Linked DNA regions of Homo sapiens: regions 1 and 2 are each linked to region 3. The links are contacts of gene promoters, found by promoter capture Hi-C in human tissues and cell types (Jung and others, 2019). All regions are on one chromosome and are shown on one strand. The core of a region is centred on a gene start or on the middle of the fragment in contact, and the rest is flanking DNA. Distances in the headings are between cores, read along the strand shown. Region 1 holds the start of DHRS2 (dehydrogenase/reductase 2). Region 2 has its middle 6.0 kb from the start of JPH4. Region 3 holds the start of CPNE6 (copine 6).

What was found. The method cuts DNA at HindIII sites, captures the fragments that hold promoters and counts their contacts. A contact is called where the count stands out against the background at its distance.
Region 1: the fragment with the promoter of DHRS2 here is called in contact with the fragment with the promoter of CPNE6 in region 3 in 1 of the 25 tissues and cell types used here (dorsolateral prefrontal cortex).
Region 2: a contact is called between a fragment that was not itself captured here and the fragment with the promoter of CPNE6 in region 3, in 2 of the 25 tissues and cell types used here (H1 embryonic stem cells and dorsolateral prefrontal cortex).

Annotation. Positions count from the first base shown.
Region 1 is chr14:23,634,888-23,638,332 of GRCh38, reverse strand. It overlaps DHRS2 (dehydrogenase/reductase 2), which reads right to left and starts at 1,969. Exons shown (of 9, transcript NM_005794.4): 1 at 1,561-1,969. The HindIII fragment of the contact is 10,677 bases long and covers 282-3,445 here.
Region 2 is chr14:23,583,217-23,586,350 of GRCh38, reverse strand. No RefSeq gene overlaps it. Among named protein-coding and RNA genes, the nearest start is that of JPH4, 6.0 kb to the right of the region's middle. RefSeq lists an enhancer at 706-1,205. The HindIII fragment of the contact is 8,014 bases long and covers 1-3,134 here.
Region 3 is chr14:24,070,279-24,073,353 of GRCh38, reverse strand. CPNE6 (copine 6) reads right to left here and starts at 1,792. Exons shown (of 17, transcript NM_006032.4): 1 at 1,713-1,792; 2 at 250-421. The coding sequence starts at 417. The HindIII fragment of the contact is 9,770 bases long and covers 1-3,075 here.

The sequences.
Region 1 (3,445 bases), core at 720-3,219, 440 kb after region 3:
ATGAGTGTTACAGTTCTTAAAGATGGTGTGTCCGGAGTTGTTCATTCCTCCCATCCGGAGTTGTTCATTCCTCCCGTCCGGAGTTGTTCATTCCTCCTGGTGGGTTAGTGGTCTTGCTGGCTTCAGGAGTGAAGCTGCAGACCTTCGCAGTGAGTGTTACAGCTCTTAAAGGCAGTGCGTCTGGAGTTGTTCATTCCTTCTGGAGGGTTTGTGGTCTCACTGGCCTCAGGAGTGAAGTTGCAGACCTTCGTGGTGAGTGTTACAGCTCTTAAAGGCAGCGCGGACCCAAAGAGTGAGCAGCAGTGAATCAAGATTTATTGCAAAGAGCGAAAGAACAAAACTTCCACAGTGTGGAAGGGGACTCAAGCAGGTTGCTGCTGCTGGCTCGGGTGGCCTGCTTTTATTCCCTTATCTGGCCCTGTCCACATCCTGCTGATTGGTCCATTTTACAGAGAGCTGATTGGTCTGTTTTATAGAGAGCTGATTGGTCCATTTTGACAGAGTGCTGATTGCTGTGTTTACAAACCTTTAGCTAGACACAGAGTGCTGATTGGTGCATTTACAATCCTTTCGCTAGACACAAAAGTTCTCCAAGTCCCCACCTGATTAGCTAGACATAGAGTGCTGCACCCTTGCTTGTCCTCCTAGACCATGAGGAGGACCGAGAAAAATCGGATTTAGTGGCCCTTACCGACGCATTCTCGAAAACCTGTTAGAGTCCTAAGCATTCTCCTGTTAGTATTGGGAACTTACCCGTGTCCTATAAAGATGTTATGCCCCAAAAATGAAGAAGAGTAACCTGAGGGAGGGAAGGGGTCTCCAGGGTTGGAAAAGTGACACCTTTTGTCCTCACTTATATGAATAGGAAGGATACAATTTCTGAGGCTCCCCCTATCCTAGCTTCAGGAATAGCTTTTGTTAGACCTGCTTATCTGAGGAGGGATTCTAAAATTCCAGATAGTTCCCCCTACAACTGGGCTTTGGGCAAAAATTATGTCTTTCTGATTGGTGAGCCCAGGTGCCTAAAGAAGGTAACAGAGTCCTGAAATTTTTACTAGAAATCATTCTTATAAGAGAAATTAGAAAAGCACCAGAGACAGGGAGTGGTTTTTTAGAAGTGGGACTAGCCTAGGAGAAGAGAGGAGAGAGAAAGTTTGTCTGGCAGGCATTAGGACCCAGCGAGCAAGGGTCAGGATAGATAGGATAGATAGGTGAGTCTCACTTGGGCAACATGCCTTTGAGAGTTCCGCTCATGGCCGCAGGGTCAACCAACTTGTTGTGGGGACTCCGGAGCTGAATGGCTTTCCTCTCTGTTGACCCTCAGCTCAGCCCAGAAGTACAGGAAAAGCGGAAGCTGGTTCCAGGCAAAACAACATTCCCAACTCCACAGAGCCAGGGGTTGTTAGAGATCCCTTTCCCAGAAAGCCTGACACCCACGTTTTTAGTCCAGCGGCTGCGCTAGTCACTTTTAACTGGCCGACAGGTGCCCAGAATTTAGCCACCGAATTCTAAGGAAAAATAGGACAGAATAGCAAATGAAAGGGATCTGATGGTACTCACCACTTGGCGATAGGTGATAGTCTCACCGCTTGGTGATGGTCTCACCACTTGGCAATAGTCTCACTGCTTGGCAATAGTCTCACCACTTGGTGATAGGTGACAGTCTCTTCAAAGTCACCAAAATGTGTACGGAATTGATGGGTTCTTGGCCTCACTGACTTCAAGAATGAAGTTGCAGACCCTTGCGGTGAGTATTACGGTTCTTAAAGATGGTGTGTCCAGAGTTGTTCATTCCTCTCGGTGCATTCGTGGTCTTGCTGGCCCCAGGAGTGAAGTTGCAGACCTTCGCGGTGAGTGTTACAGCTCTTAAAGGTGGCACGGACCCAACGAGTGAGCAGCAGCAAGATTTATCATGAAGACCAAAAGAACAAAGCTTCCACAGCGTGGAAGGGAACCAGAGCAGGTTGCTGCTGCCGGCTCAGGCAGCCTGCTTTTATTCCCTTAACTGGCCACACCCACATCCTGCTGATTGGTCCATTTTATGGAGAGCTGATTGGTCCATTTTACAGAGAGCTGATTGGTCTGTTTTACAGAGAGCTGATTGGTCCGTTTTGACAGAGTGCTGATTGGTGCATTTACAAACCTTTAGCTAGACACAGAGTGCTGATTGGTGCATTTACAATCCTTTAGCTAGACACAAAAGTTCTCCAAGTCCCCACCAGATTGGCTAGACACAGATTGCTGATTGGTGCATTTACAAACCTTTAGCTAGACACAGAGTGCTGATGGGTGCATTTACAAACCTTTAGCTAGACAGAAAAGTTCTCCAGGTCCCCACCGGACCCAGAAGCCCAGCCGGCTTCACCTCTCAATGGCACACACTGCAGGACTTTGCGGCACCTAGCCCAGGCACTCCAGCAGCCCAGAGGGAGCTCATCCCCCAGTCAGGCCCAGCTGGCACCGGCCGGCCCACGGAGCCCCTGCTGGCCGGTGAGTGCCCTGTACAGTGTGGGCTCCTGCCGGCGCCTCTCCCTCCACACCTCCTGGCGAGCAGAGGGAGCTGGCTTCGGCCTTGGCCAGCCCCAGAGAGGGGCCCCCACAGTGCAGTGGTGGGCTGAAGGGCTCCTCAAGTGCAGCCAGAGTGGATGTGGAGGACGAGGAGGCACCAAGAGTGAGCAAGGGCTGCTAGCATATTGTCACCTCTCACTTCTAGTTGAAAAAGCAAAATCAACAGAAACTCTCATTCACTGCTGGGTAGAGGGTAAGTACAATCACTTTGGGAAATGATTTGGCATTATACGGAGAAGTTGAAAATAAAGATCTCTGACTCTGTAGAGGGAACTTGCATCCTGCAGACAGGAGGTCATGTGTGCACCAAGAGACTGTACACACAGGTTCAGAGAAGCCTGCTTAGAATGTTCCAAACTGGAAACAAGTCTGTATTAGTTTGTTTTCACACTGCTATAAAGAACTAACTGAGGCCAGGCACGGTAGCTCACACCTGTAATCCCAGTACTTTGGAAGGCCAAGGTGGGCAGATCCCTTGAGCTCAGGAGTTTGAGACCAGCCTGGGCAACAAGGTGAAACCATGTCTCTATAAAAATTAGCTGGGTGTGGTGGTGCATGCCTGTAGTCACAGCTACTCGGGAGACTAAGATGGGACGATTGCTTGAGCCCAGGAGGTCAAGGCTGTGGTAGGCTGAGATTGCACCACCGTACTCCAGCCTGGGAGAGAGAGCAAGACCCTGTCTCAAAAAAAAAAAGAACTACCTGAGACTGGGTAATTTATAAAGAAAAGAGGTTTAATTGACTCACAATTCCACAGGCTGTACAGGAAGCATGGCTGGGAAGGCCTCAGGAAACTTACAATTAAGGCAGAAGGTGAAATGAAGCAGGCAGAACTTACACAGCTGGAGCAGGAGGAAGTGAGAGCAAAGGGGGAGGT
Region 2 (3,134 bases), core at 559-3,058, 490 kb after region 3:
CAAGATGGATTAAAGACTTAAACATAAGATCTAAAGCCATAAAAATCCTAGAAGAAAACCTGGGCAATACCATTCAGGACGTAGGCATGGGCAAAGACTTCATGAGTAAAACACCAAAAGCAATGGCAACAAAAGCCAAAATTGACAAATGGAATCTAATTAAACTAAAGAGCACAGCAAAAGAAACTATCATCAGAGTGAAAGGCAACCTACAGAATGGGAGAAAATTTTTGCAATCTATCCATCTGACAAAGGTCTAATATCCAGAATCTACAAAGAACTTAAACAAATTTACAAGAAAAAACAACCCCAGTAAAAAGTGGGCAAAGGATATGAACAGACACTTCTCAAAAGAAGACATTTATACAGCCAACAAACATATGAAAAAATGCTCATTATCACTGGTCATTAGAGAAATGCAAATCAAAACTACAAGGAGATACTATCTCACACCAGTTAGAATGGCAAACATTAAAAAGTCAGGAAACAACAGATGCTGGAGAGGATGTGGAGAAATAGGAACACTTTTACACTGTTGGTGGGAGTGTAAATTAGTTCAAACATCGTGGAAGACAGTGTGGCGATTCCTCAAGGATCTAGAACCAGAAATACCATTTGACCTAGCAATCCCATTACTGGGTATATACCCAAAGGATTATAAATCATTCTACTATAAAGACACATGCACACATATGTTTATTGCGGCACTATTCACAATAGCAAAGACTTGGAACCAACCTGAATGTCCATGAATGATAGAATGGATAAAGAAAATGTGGTACATATACACCATGGAATACTATGCAGCCATAAAAAAAGGATGAGTTCATGTCCTTTGCAGGGACATAGATGAAGCTGGAAACCATCATTCTCAGCAAACTATCACAAGAACAGAAAACCAAATGAGAGGTGACAGCATGCTGGCAGTCCTCAGAGCCCTCGCTTGCTCTCGGCACCTCCCCTGCCTGGGCTCCCACTTTGGTGGCATTTGAGGAGCCCTTCAGCCCCCCACTGCACTGTGGGAGCCCCTTTCTGGGCTGGCCAAGGCCGGAGCCCACTCCCTCAGCTTGCAGGGAGGTGTGGAGGGAGAGGCACCAGTGGGAACCGGGGCTGCATGCGGCGCTTGTGGGCCAGCTGGAGTTCCGGGTGGGCGTGGGCTTGGCGGGCCCCGCACTCGGAGCAACCAGCCAGCCCTGCTGGCCCCGGGCAATGGGGGACTTAGCACCCGGGCCAGTGGCTGCGGAGGGTGTACTGAGTCCCCCAGCAGTGCTGGCCCACCGGCGCTGCGCTCGATTTCTTGCCAGGGCCTTAGCTGCCTTCCCATGGGGCAGGACTCGGGACCTGCAGCCCGCCATGCCTGAGCCTCCCACCCACTCCATGGTTTCCTGTGCGGCCCGAGCCTCCCCGACGAGCACCACCCCCTGCTCCACTGCGCCCAGTCCCATCGACCACCCAAGGGCTGAGGAATGCGAGCACACGGTGCAGGACTGGCAGGCAGCTCCACCTGCAGCCCCGGTGCAGGATCCACTAGGTGAAGCCAGCTGGGCTCCTGAGTCTGGTGGGGACGTGGAGAGTCTTTATATCTAGCTCAGGGATTGTAAATACACCAATCAGCACTCTGTGTTTAGCTCAAGGTTTGTGAGTGCACCAATCGACACTCTGTATCTAGCTGCTCTGGTGAGGACATGGAGAACCTTTATGTCTAGCTCAAGGATTGTAAATACACCAATCGGCACTCTGTATCTATCTCAAGGTTTGTAAACACACCAATCAGCACCCTGTGTTTAGCTGAAGGTTTGTGAGTGCACCAATCGACACTCTGTATCTAGCTGCTCTGGTGGGGCCTTGGAGAACCTGTGTGTTGAAACTCTGTATCTAACTAATCTGATGGGGACGTGGAGTCTTTATATCTAGCTCAGGGATTGTAAACGCACCAATCAGCACCCTGACAAAACAGGCCACTCAGCTCTACCAATCAGCAGGATGTGGGTGGGGCCAGATAAGAGAATAAAAGCAGGCTGCCCGAGCCAGCATTGGCAACCCGCTCGGGTCCCCTTCCACACTGTGGAAGCTTTGTTCTTTCACTCTTTGCAATAAATCTTGCTACTGCTCACGCTTTGGGTCCACGCTCCTTTTATGAGCTGTAACACTCACCGTGAAGATCTGCAGCTTCACTCCTGAACCCAGCGAGACAACGAGCCCACCAGGAGGAACGAACAACTCCAGACGCGCTACCTTAAGAGCTGTAACACTCACCGCGAAGGTCTGCAGCTTCACTCCTGAGCCAGCGAGACCACGAACCCACCAGAAGGAAGAAACTCAGAGCACATCTGAACATCAGAAGGAACAAACTTCAGACGCGCCACCTTAAGAGCTGTAACACTCACCACGAGGGTCCGCGGCTTCATTCTTGAAGTCAGTGAGACCAAGAACCCACCAACGCCGGACACACAAACACTGCATGTTCTCACTCATAAGTGGGAGTTGAACAAGGAGAACACATGGACACAGGAAGGGTAATATCACACACTGTGGCCTGTAGGGGGGTGGGGGGCTATGGGACGGACAGCATTAGGAGAAATACCTAATGTAGGTGATGGGTTGATGGGTGCAGCAAACCACCATGGCACGTGTATACCTATGTAACAAACCTGCACCTTCTGCACATGTACCCCAGAACTTAAAGTATAATAAAAAAAAATGCTTACAATGAAAACTAAGTGAATAAGTAGGATACAAAATTGTATATGCACTGTTTTTAATTATGTTAAAAGTACATAGAAGACTATATAAAAATATACTAAACTGTTATACAGTGAGACTAGGGGTGGTTTTAATTTTTATTCTTGATATGCTGTATTTTCTTATTCTACAATGAGCATGTTTTATAAACAGGACCCCCAAAATTGCATTTGTTAAAGCATATTAACTTGGGAGTCTGATATATATCAAGCTCCAAGGGCTGCCATCTATTAGCTGGGCAACATTAAGCAAATTAACTGCTGGGTCCCAGATTTCTCACCTATAAAACTGGCATAATGCCAATCTATTTTTCAAGCCATTATTTACTGGGCACTCACTATGTGCTGGACACTATGCCAAGTGGTTTTCCCTCCTATATTATACATATTATG
Region 3 (3,075 bases), core at 543-3,042:
CTTGGGGTGCTGCCTGCCCACTGGACTCTCAGTCCTCCGGGCTATCATGAGGCCTTTGGGAGCAACCCCACTGCCTCTGGGTCAATCTCAGGACCCTCTGGGACACCATCTCCAGGGTACCCAAGCGGCCTCGAGAAGGCGCCGCAGAGTCCACACATTTCCCTGCAAGGCTTTCACTGCTCCCACCCAGCCTCCCTCTTTCCCAAGCTTAACCCAGGTTAGTTAAGGAGAAACCTGAGCTGCTCTCACCTCCACCCACTGCTCATCAGAGTAGAGCTTGAGCAGCACGCAGGGGTGGGGTTTGGTGAGTGTGTCCCGGTCCAGGAGGCCATGGCAGGACACCCGCAGCTCCACCCGAGAGGCCCCCAGCGTCATGGTTGGGGGCTCAGGCACCCATCCCATCTCAGGGTCCGACATGTCACTGTGGGGACAGAGCAGGTGGCCTGGACTCTGGAAAGGGAACACCTGCCAGCAGAGGGGTCTATCCTCTAGGGTCCCTGGGCCCCACCCCTTAACCTCCTTCCCTAGACCCTGGGGCCTCACGGACCTCCTGCTTCCTCAGCTTCACCAGAGTTCTGAGCAGGGGAGGGCAGAGGACCTGAGCCTCCCACTCCTGCTCAGAAGCCCTGTGCTGCTGGCCTAGGTATGCGTGGATGGGGCTGGAGAGGGCTGAAGGATTGGGGTGGGGATGTTCCTGGCAGTCTTGGCTCCTAGGCCATCGATTGATCTACACTTTCTGCCGCCTCAGCACCTTCTGCTATTTCCCGACTGGTGTTGTGCCAGCGCTGCACTCAGTCTTGGCACGAGGGAGCTAAACTAGGGCAAGGGGGTGGGGCAGGGGGTGGAGAGGCCTCTGGAGTTCTGAAGAGGATGGGTCTCAGAAGTGGAGTCTGCAGTGGGCAGGAGACAGGTTGGAAAGTCCCCTGCTGGGCTATCCCTATCCACTCCCTACCCCCATTCCCCTTCTGGCTAGCTGATGGAAAAGGAGTGGTGGTGGGCTGGGAGGCAGGACCAGGGCTCTGCTGAAAGCTCCTTCAGGCTCCTGGCAGGAGCTCTAACTGTGACAAGCCTCACATCCCTCCCCACCTCCCCTGTTTTCACACTTCTTGGCAGCACTGGCACCGTCTCTTAGCGACAGGATTTTTGGGGAGTCGTGGCTCCCTCCATGCTGCCCGTGGGATGCACGCATGCCACCTTCCCCCAGCAGTGGTACCAAGCCTCGGGCTGAAGCAGGCAGGGGTATGCCGGCCAGAGTTCATGGCCGGTCAGTCCATCTATCTGTGTCTGTACAGATCTCAGGGTGAGGCTGTCTGATCCCATGTCATGCTTCCCCGAGTGAGTGTGCATTGGTGTGTCTGAGTGCCCCACCCTCCGTGTCTGTCCCCCCATGTCGTGTGTCCGTTTCCAGGAGGGTGTGACAGTTCCTGTACCTCCCTCAGAAGTGGGACCTTTCTCTGGCTGGGTATCTACCTCCCCACAGTGTGTGCCTTTCTGGATATGTGAGGGAGGGTCTGGGCTGGGGGAGGGGGGTCTCTGCCTTCCAGCCACAAGTCTCCCAGTTCTTGGGGGTCCCCGAGATAGGCAGGGGCTTGTGGTGGTGAAGGGATTGGGCAGGGCTGGGATCTCTCTGCGGGCTCCAGGAGATGTTGTTATGGAGACTGGGCCAAGCTGGGCTGGGCTGGGGCTGGGCTGGGGAGGAAGGGTGGGCTCACCTGGGCTCTCGGTCGGGGGCTCCTCTCTCCGGCTCTCTGGCCCTGGCCCTGACTCCCTTGCTGCTCCAGCCGCTGGCGCCGGCTCCAGCTCCGGCTCTGCTGCTATTTATGGGGCCTGGATGGGGAGGGGTGGGGGGGGGCGCAGCACCAGCTCCCCCCGCGTGGATGGATTGGGAGGGAGAAGAGGGAAGGGGCAGGGCCACAGCCTGGGAGGGAGCCACAGAACCGGGGGAGGAGGGCAGGCTGGGGGTGGCTTAGAGGCAGGACCCCCACAGACACAGTGACACACATCTTCCCCTTCACACTACACCCACACCCAGAATCGCAGAGATGCGCACATTGCAGTGGCATGCACATACACATTCAAACAGAGAAATGATGGCGACACATGCACCCACGACTCACAGGCTCACACATATCTTGACACACACAGGCGCCAGTACATAAACTCACTGTGACACCACGACAGTTACAGCCCCCGGCGGATACACATTGGGAAACATACCCCTTCTCACATCACTTTCAACATTGTTACACTAGCTAAGGATATCTGCAGTCACATATACAGGAACACTGGGCTGTCCTTGTCACACATGTACTCACTCAAACTAACCCGGAATACAGCAGGATGTGATCTTCCCGTGCTCCTTAAAAGCCATCACATACCTTGCTGAACGTCATAGCTTTGAGAATGATGTCCAGTTCCCTAGCCACCATTTTATAAGGAGACACAGGAAATGGACATAATTGCTTAAGGACACCCAACCTCATATCCTGGTCACATGAGGGCATCTGCTGAAGGACTGACTCCCAAGGCTTCTTCCCGGTGCCACAATGTACCCAACACCCCCCAAGATTCAACCCATATGGCCTTACCCTTGTGGGAGGGGCTGTGCCATGCACAGATCTTAAGGAAACAAAACAAGTAATTCCTGGTGAAATCAGTAAGTAAGGGAAGTAAGCAGTTGCCTGGGGAGCTGCAAACCACACATGAAGACATTTGGGCACATTGTGGTCTGCGATGAGTACGCAAGAGCATTTACCTTCGCCCTCCATCCCCTTAAGCTGCTCATGTATTAATATAGCAGCCATTTATTGAGCATCTCCTGGGTGTCAGGCACTGTGCCAGGTGCTGGGGCTACACAGGTGATTAAGACACAGCCTCTGCCCCTGGGGGAGGCAGATGTATATGGAACAGAAAGACAGGCAGACAGAGAGAGGATAAGCCAATACGCATACGCAATGAAGCGTGACAGGTGCAATGTTATGGACCTGCTCAGGATGCAGTGGGAGCACATTAAAGCAGGGTGCAATATGGATGAGTGGGGAAGGCATCAGGAAGGACTTCACAGAGGAAGGGGCT